Regions from separate parts of the Homo sapiens genome. Here all the other regions are linked to region 3. The links are contacts of gene promoters, found by promoter capture Hi-C in blood cells and fetal thymus (Javierre and others, 2016). All regions are on one chromosome and are shown on one strand. The core of a region is centred on a gene start or on the middle of the fragment in contact, and the rest is flanking DNA. Distances in the headings are between cores, read along the strand shown. Region 1 holds the start of DDX6 (DEAD-box helicase 6). Region 2 holds the start of PHLDB1 (pleckstrin homology like domain family B member 1). Region 3 holds the start of MCAM (melanoma cell adhesion molecule).

What was found. The method cuts DNA at HindIII sites, captures the fragments that hold promoters and counts their contacts. A CHiCAGO score of 5 or more calls a contact.
Region 1: a contact is called between the fragment with the promoter of DDX6 here and the fragment with the promoter of MCAM in region 3, in 2 of 17 cell types (neutrophils and fetal thymus). The highest score is 7.6, in neutrophils.
Region 2: a contact is called between the fragment with the promoter of PHLDB1 here and the fragment with the promoter of MCAM in region 3, in 2 of 17 cell types (fetal thymus and total CD8 T cells). The highest score is 8.3, in fetal thymus.

Annotation. Positions count from the first base shown.
Region 1 is chr11:118,789,416-118,793,104 of GRCh38, reverse strand. It overlaps DDX6 (DEAD-box helicase 6), which reads left to right and starts at 1,941. Exons shown (of 14, transcript NM_004397.6): 1 at 1,941-2,007. RefSeq lists enhancers at 56-165, 554-1,109, 1,726-1,835, 3,146-3,325, 2,784-3,341 and silencers at 1,166-1,455, 1,906-2,235, 2,866-2,945. The HindIII fragment of the contact is 4,863 bases long and covers 1,758-3,689 here.
Region 2 is chr11:118,606,058-118,609,794 of GRCh38, reverse strand. It overlaps PHLDB1 (pleckstrin homology like domain family B member 1), which reads right to left and starts at 2,180. Exons shown (of 23, transcript NM_001144758.3): 1 at 2,096-2,180. LOC124902765 (a long non-coding RNA gene) reads left to right here and starts at 1,284. Exons shown (of 2, transcript XR_007062908.1): 1 at 1,284-1,672; 2 at 2,607-3,737. RefSeq lists enhancers at 1-334, 335-1,009, 1,047-1,341 and silencers at 1,469-1,538, 1,599-1,688. The HindIII fragment of the contact is 8,144 bases long and covers 1-3,737 here.
Region 3 is chr11:119,315,227-119,318,971 of GRCh38, reverse strand. It overlaps MCAM (melanoma cell adhesion molecule), which reads left to right and starts at 1,842. Exons shown (of 16, transcript NM_006500.3): 1 at 1,842-1,937; 2 at 3,709-3,745. The coding sequence starts at 1,871. RefSeq lists enhancers at 213-262, 3,156-3,745 and a silencer at 1,504-1,563. The HindIII fragment of the contact is 17,882 bases long and covers 1-3,745 here.

The sequences.
Region 1 (3,689 bases), core at 692-3,191, 530 kb after region 3:
GTCAGCCGCGACCCATCACTTGATTTAACAGACTCATAGGCAGGCAGGGGAGTGGAAAAGCTTTACATATACTGAAAAAAGGGAGAAACTTCAGGTTGGCTCTGATTGGAGGATGTTGGCATCGGGAAGTTGGAGGAGGGCTATACTAGAAGCAGGGCTTCTTACGCGATTGGTGTGAGGAGCACATTTGGCTTTCTCTGATTGGCCCAGAGCTGGAAGCAGGGGCAAGAAATAGGGAAGCTGCCGGTTAAAGATTAAGTCCTGACCCTTCTGGCCGATTACTGAAGAGGTTATGGGTAGGAGGTCATGGTTAGGTTTGGCCATTCTTTGTATATTCAGTCTCTCAATTGGGTGAGGATTAGATTTTGTTTCTCTTGACCTAGCTAGCTTTTAGCTCCAAAGTTTTGTTTAACTTGGAAGAAGACAGCAGTTCTATTATTTCTGTCAAGGATAAACACAGACATTGGGATCTGAAAAGTATTATGGGAACATACATAAATATCTTCATAGTGAGGGTCAGGCCGGAGAGTCACCCTTTGCCTTAAGCTTCTCCATTTCCTTACTGAATTCCTATTTCTATTATAACTGACGCTTCACTAGCTTCCCTCCCTTTAGTGGAGGGCCCGGCCTCCTCCGCCCCTACTTTCTTCAGTCTTGCCCTTCGAGGGCAGGAGAAGACGGTTGCGCCCTACTAACTCTTCACCTTACAGTCCAGCTTCTCCCCCCACCACCCCGGTGCGCTCTCTCGGTTTGCTACCCTCTCCACCAGGCCTCCCCACTCCACCTGCGCAACGCCCCCAGCTCCGTGCTCTCCGGAGTAATCCCCCCTCAGTCGCACTCTCACAGCCCGGCCCCTGCCCCCGCCTCACCCCCAGTTGTGCCTTCACCTCCCGGTTCCTCCTAGACAGGTCCCCCAAGATACGCCCTCACAGTCCGGTCCCCCGCCGTCCTCTCCCGGCGCACGCTCAAGTCCGGTGCCTTCCCCCCGCAGACCCCCGAGGCGCACCCTCAAGCTCGGTGCCTCTGCGCCCCCCGCAGGGGCGCCCTCAAGCCTGGTACCCTTCACATGAGAGCCCCCCGGGCGCACCCTCAAGCTCGGTGTACCCCCCCATACCACCCGCAGGCGCGCCCTCATGCCCGAAGACTTCCCCCGCCCAGGTGCACCCTCAAGCCCGGTGCCTTCCCCCACAACCAGCGCCCCCAGGCGCACCCTCAAGCCCGGAGCCTACCCGCCGCCAGGCGCGCCCTACAGGCTCGCCCCGTCCCACCGCGCAGCGCCCCCCGCGCACTCTCTGGAGTCCTCCCTCCTGCCTGGTGCGGCCTCCGGGCCCGGTCGGCCCCCCTTCCTGCCCCCACACTCAGACGCGCGCCCGGCGTCTCCGGGTCGCTAGTTCCGCGCCTTCCTGCATGGAGGCGCGCCCCGAGAGGCTCGGACGCGGCCCCTTAGGCCCGGCATCAGCCTCCCCGGCCAGCTGGAGAAGTCAGGTCAGCTTCCTGTCCCCGAGCAGCTGCCCGGGGGCCAGTTTTCAAAACATATCCTTAGTCATGTAATAAAGAGATGTTCCTCTGGTCTCAACTCCCGATTTTTACTTTGGAGGGGCGAAGGCAGGCCTACCCTTGCCAGCCACCATTTCTCAATCACGTCGCGGCTGTGGAAAAGCAGCCGTCCTGTCCCTTCAGAAAGGAACTCGTATTTCCCCCTCGAACTTTTCTCGTCGGTGTGAGAGAAGGGCCCTCCATTTTCTCCTCAGGAAGCTTTCGCGGCCCGACTTCCTCTCACCACCAGGCCAGGAAGGCAGTGACGCCGCGGCGAATATAGCCGCGGCGGCCGAGGTTTCGCCATCTTGAGTGGAGGAGGAGCCGCGGTCGCCGCCATGCGGAGAGGCAGGGAAAGAGGGAGGAGGCGGCGGGCGGGCGAACGGGCGAGCGAGGGAGGGGGCAGAGGAGCCGAGTTAGCTCAGCCAGGCGGCGACTTCGGCGGCGCCACGAGAGCGGGCAGCGGAGGAGGTAGGGCTGGACAGCCGGGGGAGCCGGCGGCTCGGGCGGCTGGCCTGCGCGCCCCTCGGAGCGGGGCGGGGGCGGGGGCGAGAGGAGGCCGTAGCGAGAGGGCTGGGTGGGGGCGGGCGGAGGTTTCCGAGGAGGAAGGAGCGTCCGCCATTTTGGGAGCTTCGAGTCAACAATAAAGGACCGAGGGTGCCGAGCGGGAGTGGCCTCGTTGGTAGGACACGGGCCCGAGTCGCGAGGCTTGGGGTGAGGTGGTGGGGTCGAGGTCAGCGGTGCTTTGGGGGCTGTGGGGAGCCCCCCGGGCCGGCTCTGGGGGACTCTCGGGCGGAGGCCTAAGGCCTGGCCGGGCCTGGGGAGGAAGGCGGTCGGCAGCTGTGTGGGGTGGGAGCGCCTGAGAGGAGGCGAATATAGGAATGTGGTGCGCAGCAGGGTCGGCAGGAGGAACAGGCTAAGTACTCGGAGTAGCTTTATCGAAGATGAGGGAATATGAGGCCGAAGGGGGCGGCAAGGACTTAGGGGGATGATGGTGGAGGTTATAGGGTACGAGGCGGCCCTATAGGGGGCGGCAGGGACATGCTGTATTGGAGGGCTCGGTTTAGAAGCAAACCGGCCGCTGCTTGATTGCAGTAGGCCTTGCGGGTCAATAACAAGAGGGTATTTATGGAGCCCCCGACTCTTGGAGGAAAGGAGGGGGATTTCTGGTTTAGGGGGTCCATTTGGGGCCTCCTTGGGGGAGTCCCTATTGTTTGCTACTAATGGAGCGGTTGCTGGCTCATATTGCGCAGATAAGATTGCAGAGCCCCAACCTTTTGTGTTTATGGTCAGAAGTGTGTGTGTTTGGGGCGTGGGGCGGGGTGCGGGGGGACAAGAAATTTCCTTTCAGTTACGGGGTTCCAGTCATTAGTCAATGACTCTTTCCCGTATCTCTCTCCTTTCTCTTCCTCAGCCCCCATTTCCCTTCAGAATAAAACCCAGTCACTCCAACTTGCAGGCAAAGCTAGAAAAACTGCGCTGCATTTGCAAACAAAAGCTCTTGTTGGCGATGACGATACTGTTTTGGGTGTGAAACTGTCAATTGCTAACTACGATCTGTGAAGTGCTGTAATTAACTCCGCTAGGGGCTCCTCCCAACTAGTCTACGTTTCTTGTTGTTTGTTTTTTGTTTTTTTGTTTTTTGTTTTTGAAAATGTAGAAAACTTGCAAATCTAAATTGGGAAGGGGTAGGAGGAATATTTCCTTCTCTGAGAAAAAGCTGCAGTGCAGGTTTCAGTTTAAGAAGGGAGCAGTTATCACATAGTCTCATTTTGGATTTAAGGATATAGGAGGTCTTACTGTGCATGATGGACAGTAATGATGATATCGTTCGGTCTTTAGAGGTTGCCCTTTTCATCCTCTTAGTGCTCTGCAAACAGCTAAGTCTCTGTGAACTGCGTGATATCGCTGATCATAATATAAAACCGTCAATACAGGAAAGTAGCTGTTAACCATATCTGCTTAAGAGGTCAGAGTCTGAAGTAAACAGCTTTGTGTATGTGATAATCAGGATTTGCTTGTGAGCAACTTGTTCATTTTTTTTTTAAGGAAGGCATAATCAAGGAGCATTTTCTTCATAAATGTTGAGATCTGTTGACTTTAAAATTTTGAGTTTCACATGCCTTGGTGTATGGCAGAAAGAATCAGCACTC
Region 2 (3,737 bases), core at 931-3,430, 710 kb after region 3:
CCTGCCCAGGCTGCCCGCGTGGGACAAGGCCGCAGTGTTGGGCGCCTGCCGCTGCCGCCTGCCCGCCCGCCCCTGACAAGCGGCCTTTCTTTGGCGGGGCAGAGAGAAGGAGCCGCTTGTTTGCGCGGCCGGGAAACGGGGCGGCCCCCACAGACACCGCCCGTTCCGAGCCTGGCAGCTGCGGGAAGGGCGGCTGAATGTGTGTGAGGGGCCGCGTGTGTGAGCTGGGGCTGCGGTGTGAGCTGGGCTGTGTGTGTGACTGGGGCTGCATGTGTGAGGGGGCTGCATGTGTGAGCTGGGCTGCGTGTGTGAGCTGGGCTGTGTGTGTGGCTGGGGCTGTGTGACGGGCTGCGTGTGTGAGCTGGAGTGTATGTGTGAGCTGGGCTGCGTGTGTCAGCTGGGCTGTGTATTGAGCTGAGCTGTGTGTGTGATAGGCTGTGTGTGTGATGGGCTGTGTGTGTGAGCTGGGCTGTGTGTGTAAGCTGGGCTGTGTGTGTAACTGGGGCTGTGTGTGTGAGCTGGGCTGTGTATTGAGCTGAGCTGTGTGTGTGACGGGCTGCGTGTGTGAGCTGGGCTGTGTGTGTATAACTGGGGCTGTGTGTGTGAGCTGGGCTGTGTGTGTGACGGGCTGCTTGTGTGAGCTGGGCTGTGTGTGTGAGCTGGGCTGTGTGTGTGACGGGCTGCTTGCATGAGCTGGGCTGTGTAACTGGGGCAGTGTGTGTGAGCTGGGCTTCGTGTGTGAGCTGGGGCCTCGTGTTTGACTGGGGTGTGTGTGTGAGAGCTGGGGCTGCGTGTGTGAGCTGGGCTTCGTGTGTGAGCTGGGGCCTCATGTGTGACGGGTACGTGTGTGAGCTGGGTTGTGTGTGTGACTGGGGTGCGTGTGTGAGGTAGGCTGTGTGACTGGGGTGCATGTGTGAGCTGGGGCGCGTGTAAGCGGGGCTGCGGGTGTGAGGGGCTGCGTGAGCGCGGGGCGCTTTCCTGTGAGGCGTAAGGCATGGAGTGCGTGGGAAGGCCTCGGCGTGTGGGCGGGTCCGGGTGTGTCTGGGTGGCGTGACGCAGGGACGTAGGTGTGCGAAGTGTCGCGGAGGCGTGCGTGTGTGCCGCGTGGGAGCCCGGCGTGGTGGGGCGCCTGCGTTTGCGTTTGACGGCTGGGGGGTGAGCCCGCCGCCCGATGAGTCAGCCTCGGGAGGCTCCAGGACCGCTGAGCTAACGGCCCAGAATGCAGCCCCGCCCCAGAGCCGTGGGTCCCCGGCAGGGCTGTGCGGTCGCCCGGCCAAGTCCCCACTCGAGCCTGCCTCGGCGGAAGCGCTAGCGGGCGACTCGGCCACCCTGCGCCGGCGCCCCTACCCAGCCGCCCGCCCGCACTTCCCTATCCCGGGGGAGCCCGGATGACTTGGGTCAGCCTCCGCTCGGGGAACTCCGCTAGGGATTCCAATAGGGACCGCGCGGGCGTGGCAAGGCGCCCCAGGCGGCCTCCCCGGCCCCCGAGGACGTGGGGCCTTGGGGAGTGCCTGGGAGGCCCCAGGCGGGCTTCCCATCTCCTGGACACCCCCAGGCAGCCCTCCTAGACGCTCAAGACTCTGAGCCGGACTCCGAATCCCTTCCTGGTCCATCAAGGCGGCCGGCCTGGGGACAGGCGGGGAGACGTCACAGGAGATACCCCCGCCCCAAGGTCCTGCTGTGGGCGGAGAGGGGGAGGTGTGGGGCGCTGGAGGACGAAAACCCGCGCGCGCGCTCGCCGCCCGATACCCCGCGAGTGTCCGCCCGGCCGCCTGGGTGCCGGCGGGAGAGTCTGGATAGGGCCAGGATCAGAGTTTCTCCAAGGGGGGGAGAGCGTCACGGCCCCCTCTGGCGGTGGCGTTGGCAGCGGCCGAGGAAGGCAAAAGCAAGAGGCTCACAGGAAAACTCCCCATAACGCTCCTTTCGCCCCCACGCACTCACCTGGGGTGCCCTCTCTCCCCCACGGGTTTCTGCCGAGCTCCCTAGCCTAGAGCTGATCTCAGGGCTCTCGCCAGGCCCCGGGGACTTCCCCTTATCCAGTCCTAGCACCGCAGCGAATGGGACCCGCAAGTGTAGTGGGACGGGGCGCTCTTACCTAGAGGTGGGGGGGGGGCAGGGAGACACTGGTCCCTTAGCCTGGCTCGGCTCGGTCGCGGTGGCCTCAGGCTTAGGAGGACACCGTTGCTTTTCCCCGGGAGCTCGCTAAGTAGGAGGAGAGCGAGCCTGTCCCGCCCCCCTCCCGCCAGTCCCCGCCCCCGTCCCCCGTCCCGTCCGCCTGGCCAGCCAAAGAAGACGCCCTTGTGGGGCTGGAGCCCAAGGTCCCCCCACCCACCCTTTCCCACAGCAGCACCTCCCCCAGCCTGCACAGCGCCCGCTTTGTTCATCTTTGCAGCTGGGCTCTCCACCATCACCACCACCACCACCACCACCACCACCACCACCACCACCACCACCACCACCACCACACATCCCCCTCTCCTCCCACCCTGCCCTCCCGACTCTCCTAGACCACCCTCCACTCCCAGGCTTTAACACGCTTTTGAGAGGGTGTTTTTGACAATCCGTTCTCCCTCCCCCAAACTCTCCCCTCTTTCTTTTTGCCTTAGATGCCTGAAACCTCCACGGGCTCCCACTGAACCTCCCAAATCGAAGCCCCTACAACATGCTCTCAACATCTCCAGAACATCTACTGAGGGTACCCAGGTCTTCTCCCTGTCACCTCCTCCCCTCGCCCTATTCCAAGCCCCACCATGAAGAGCTGTAAATGACATTGATAGCCACGCACATCAGGCTTCACAGACTTTCTTAAGGATAGGCACAAGAAGACTCGTTAAAGTGTCATGCAAACTCCAAAGCACAGGAAAACCGAATGGAATTATCATCTTGCCCCCATGGAGCTCCACACCCCTCCACCCCGACAGACTTGCTGGATTACAGATTGGGAGATGGAGGCAGGCTATAGACATACAATTGAGCACACCAACCTGTAGTAGGAGTGGGAGTTAATAAGGAAGAGAAGGAGGCACTAAACACCTAAAAGCAGCCCCCAAATTGAGCTAGGTTGAAGTCATTCTCCATCTCAACCTCCACTCCGAAATCCAACGCTGACAGTGGATCCTTACCTTGCAAAGCCAGCTCTTGGTCCAGGAGACTGGCTGGGGAGGCCCTAGGGAGCTGAACTCAGCTGGACTGGACTTCTTTGACCTGCACTAGAGGGACCCTGGAGACTCTTCTTCACTGAAGGAAGGAGCAGAAAGCCTGTAAGTCTGGTCTAAATTCCAGCTGGGGTGGATAGCAAAAAATAATTTATCCTCTTTGAGATGGACAAGTGCTGTTCTAATTCAATGAGTTTAGTTTGTGCCGTCTCTCCCTAACCCAGGAACAGCAGGAGGCTGAACTACAGGAATCTCTGGTCACTCATTGACAGGGCTGGCCTTAGCAGGGGACCCCCCACGGCTGGAGACTGAAGCTGACCGGGGCCAAGCAGCAGACAAGGAGGGGGAGGGGAGAGGCCGCCCTTTGCTGCCACCTGCTATAGCTAATGGAGGTGGAACACTCAAGATCCAGAATATGCTGTGGGTACCAGGAAGTCCTAGGATTTGAGGAGCGAGACTCTAGTTTTTCCTCTCTTCATACTGTTTGAAGTCATGAAAGTAATTCTGATGAACCTTCATGAGGCAGATCACAACAGTAATATTCAGGCTATTTGGGTATGTAAAAAAAGGAAGAAGGAAAAA
Region 3 (3,745 bases), core at 593-3,092:
AAAGGACAGTCTTCTGTGCTTGTTTGGTGGGGCAATGCGAAGGGACGTCACCCTGGGCTCTAGGCTCTGACCTCATTTCCCTTTCACCGCAGAGACAAATCCTCCACCCCCACCTGGCTTCACTCTCCTCCAGCGGAAGAAGAATTCAGAACTGACTGTCCTTGGTGGTTAGCTGGCTTTGTTTTCAGGCCAGAGAGGCGAATGATTAGTTAATGGTGTTAAGTGAAGGAAGGGGGTTGGGCAGGGAAGCCAGCTCCATGCCCAGCCGGGCCTGCCAGGGCAAACGGCATCCTTCAGCCATTCCCACTCCAGCCCAGCAGACAAAACATTCTCATCTAGTCAGCTCTGGGCCTGGGGCCAGTCCATACATTCACTCTGGAGGGCGAGCCAGCGTCCTCCTCTTGTTCTCCCTGCAGGCTCCAGGCTCCAGGCCCCTGGCCCGGTGGGCCTGGGCTCTGCACAGCCTCTGGCTGGAGACTAATGGCATTGGAGGAGGGGTCGAGAAGGCTCTGAAAGACAAGCCTGGTGTGGTTTTCCAGTCATCTCTGCGTCATCAAAACGCCACCCCGGAGCATGCTCTCAAGTCACCTGGCCATCTCCAGGGTTTGCTGGCTCACCCTCCACCTCCCCCAGCGAGCAAAGGGGTGGCCCCGCTGGGCAACAGACCTCTACCCAAATCCAGGCCCCTATTTGGCACTCCCTGGTGGAGGCGCGCCAGCAGATGTGGACCCCTTTTCTGAGGCCAGGCTGCTGGGGTCAGAGTGAGGCAAGAGCACCTCCCCCTCCCTAGAGCCTTAGTTCAAGAGGCCAGAAGACCCAGGGAGAAGCCGGCGTTTTGGGAGAAGGGGAGCTGCAGAGCTCCCCACCCAAGCAGGTCTGATTTGATTCTTCCCTCAGCTATGGACCCACAATCAATAGGGCTGGGGAAGACATGGGGTGGGGGAAGATCAGCGCTGCCGGGATCCTTTCAATCATCAGGAACAGCAACAGGTTTGCAGGGTCAGGCTGGGGACCCTCGCCCATTAACTCTTTCTTCTCCCTGTTTCTTTCTCTTAGGTGAGGGGAAACTGAGTTCCAGGGTAGGCTCCAGAGTGAAGAGGGAAGAAACATGATTCTCAAGGCCCAGGTCTGGACAAGTGTGAACACCTTGGGCCTGCGAATTCAGCCCCCTCCTTCCTTTCTCTGGTCAAAGGCTAGACTTGCAGGAGCTTGCGTTTGAAGGGACAGCCCAGAAGGCATCGTCTGCACTCCCCATACAGGTACTTCTGGGTCTGTGGGACTGGCGCAGGGTTCTTCTCCCAAAGCTGCCAGCACTGAGGCTGAGGCAGTGTCAGGCCGGCGGCAGCGGCAGTGGTGCAATCGTTCTGGGAAGCGATAGAGGCCGGCCTGAATTCTCTGTGGCAAGGGAGGGGAGCCCAAGTGGGAGGCCCCTTGGGGACACCGAGGACCAGGTCCGCTACTGCTCCTCCCCCAGGAGGTCCCCTAGGGGCTACATTGGCTGGCAGGGGCTGAGCAGCGGTGAGCCTGGCTGGCTTCGACCCGGGGCGACTCCGGGCATCCGGGACAGCTTCTCCTCGCTGCCACCTCGGCCAGTCAGACCCCGAGACACCTGTCACTACCCCCTCAGCCTTCCCAAGCCAGGAGCCTGGGAGTCCGGCTCTGGCCTACCTCCGGCAGCGCTCCTAGGCGCAGCTCCCGGGCTGGCGGCGCCGGGGCCCGCCCCCTAGGGCTGCGGCGCGCGGGGCGGGGGCTGGGGGCTGCGCGGGGCGGGGCGGGCCCGGGCGCTCCGGGCCCCCTCCCCCGCCCCCCTGACGTCAGCCCCCGGCAGCCTCGAGCTGCTCACTTGGCTCTCGCCCTCCGGCCGGGAAGCATGGGGCTTCCCAGGCTGGTCTGCGCCTTCTTGCTCGCCGCCTGCTGCTGCTGTCCTCGCGTCGCGGGTGAGTTCGCTCGCAGGGGGGCCGCGCCCCGGCTAGGGGTCTGCGGTGGAGCGTGCCAGGGAGCAGAGCCAGCGGCGCGGCGGGGTCGGGGCGTTGCGTCTGGGAGGACGAGCCTCCTCCCTGGGTCCCCGATCCCCGGGCGCCTTGCGCGCGAGCAACTCTTCTTTGCAGCCAGTTTGCAGCCGGGATTCTAGAGTATCCCGGGAGCAGCACTCGGAAGGCGGGGAGGAGGCTGCTTCTGGGAACGAGAAGGGGTGGAGCTCAGCCTTTCGGGGTGCTGGGGGGTGGGTGGTCCCTGAGGTGCTCACTCTGGGGGCCCGCAATTGAAGCCGGGCAGGAGGCGCAGCTGGGGCGCATCCTCAAAGCCTGAATTCCGCGCCCGCCTGTTGCTGGAAAAGGCAGCTTCCTTCGCTGGAGGGGGTGCGCCGACCCACCCCTTCCCCCTTCTGCCTGGGCATCACGCCAGGCTGGAGGTGAGCGAGAGCGGGAGGTTCGGCGGCTCCCGCCCGAGCTGGGCGTTGGCAGGGGTTGCGGGGCGGTGTGGGTCGCCTCGCGCCTCCCCGAGTGATGGGATCATAGGGGACAGAGATGAGGGATGGAGGATTCCCATACTGGAAGCGCCCGCTGGCTTATTTTGGGGACCACATTCAGGTGGGAAGTGCGCCCGGGCACCTCGGAGCGTTTCTCCGGATCCGCCTGGTAGCAGGGCGCTCTCGGGTCCACGCTGCCCTTGTATGGCCCGCAGCGGTGTCGCGTGTTTCTCTTGGCTCCCATTCCGCCGTCCCAGCCGCTGTCCGGCTGGGGAAGGGGAGGGCTAGGCAATACCCAGCTCGCTGGCCTCATGCCCAGTGCCAACCATGTCCCTGGGGTATTCCAGGCTACTGCCTCCCAGGCTGACTTTATTTCTGGGGAAAGGGCTAAATCGGGCTCCACAGTTGCAGCCGGTCCAGCTCCACCCTGCCCTGCTCTTCTAGCTCTGGGAGGAGTCAGGGGTCTGAGGCTCTGGGTTGGAGACCCCACCTTCCACCTGCCCTCCTTGTCCGAGAGCCAAGGTAACAACCCAGGCATCCCAGAGCCCAGGCAGATGGTGTCGAGTGACATCACCTCCTCACAGGGCTGGCAGCACGCTGGCACCACTGACGTCACTCCTGCCCACTGCCTGGCCCTTGCCCTGACCCCTGGGGGAGACTCTGACCTCTCCATCCTTACCAGCTACCTAGGGTGGGGTCCGCGGGTGTGTGCGGAGTGTTCATGGAGGTGCTGCTGAGGGAGCATGAGACCGGAACTTCCGCCAGAGTTAGCCCGCTGGGGAGTGAGGGCAGGGATTTTGGAGGGCAGAGGATAGAGCAGTGGTGTCTTCCCCTGGCGGTGGTGACACAAAAGGGCCTGTGTGCCCCAGCCTGGCACATGCTTTGCATTCCCACACTCTGAGCTCACCCGGAGAGGAGGGGGCCTGGAAGGAAAGGGGCCTTCCTCTTGGCCCCGAGCCTAGGTTGCCCCTTTCTGCCCCTCTACCAGCCTCAGCTGGAGCTGTTCGGTGCTCAGTCTCTGCTCAATCTCTGCTTGGCTCCAAGGACCTGGGATCTCCTGGACGGGGAGAGGGCTGGCCCAGGTGGGGCGCGGGTCGGGGTGGGGGTAGAGCGTTCAGAGGACAGGGCCCTCTGCAGACCCTCTGAGTGGCAGGAAAAACAGCTGCAGCAGCGCTGCGAGGGGAGGGGCGGACAGCAGCCGGAGCTGACACAGCTGCGGGGGCCCCGCCTCCCTCCCCCAGGTGTGCCCGGAGAGGCTGAGCAGCCTGCGCCTGAGCT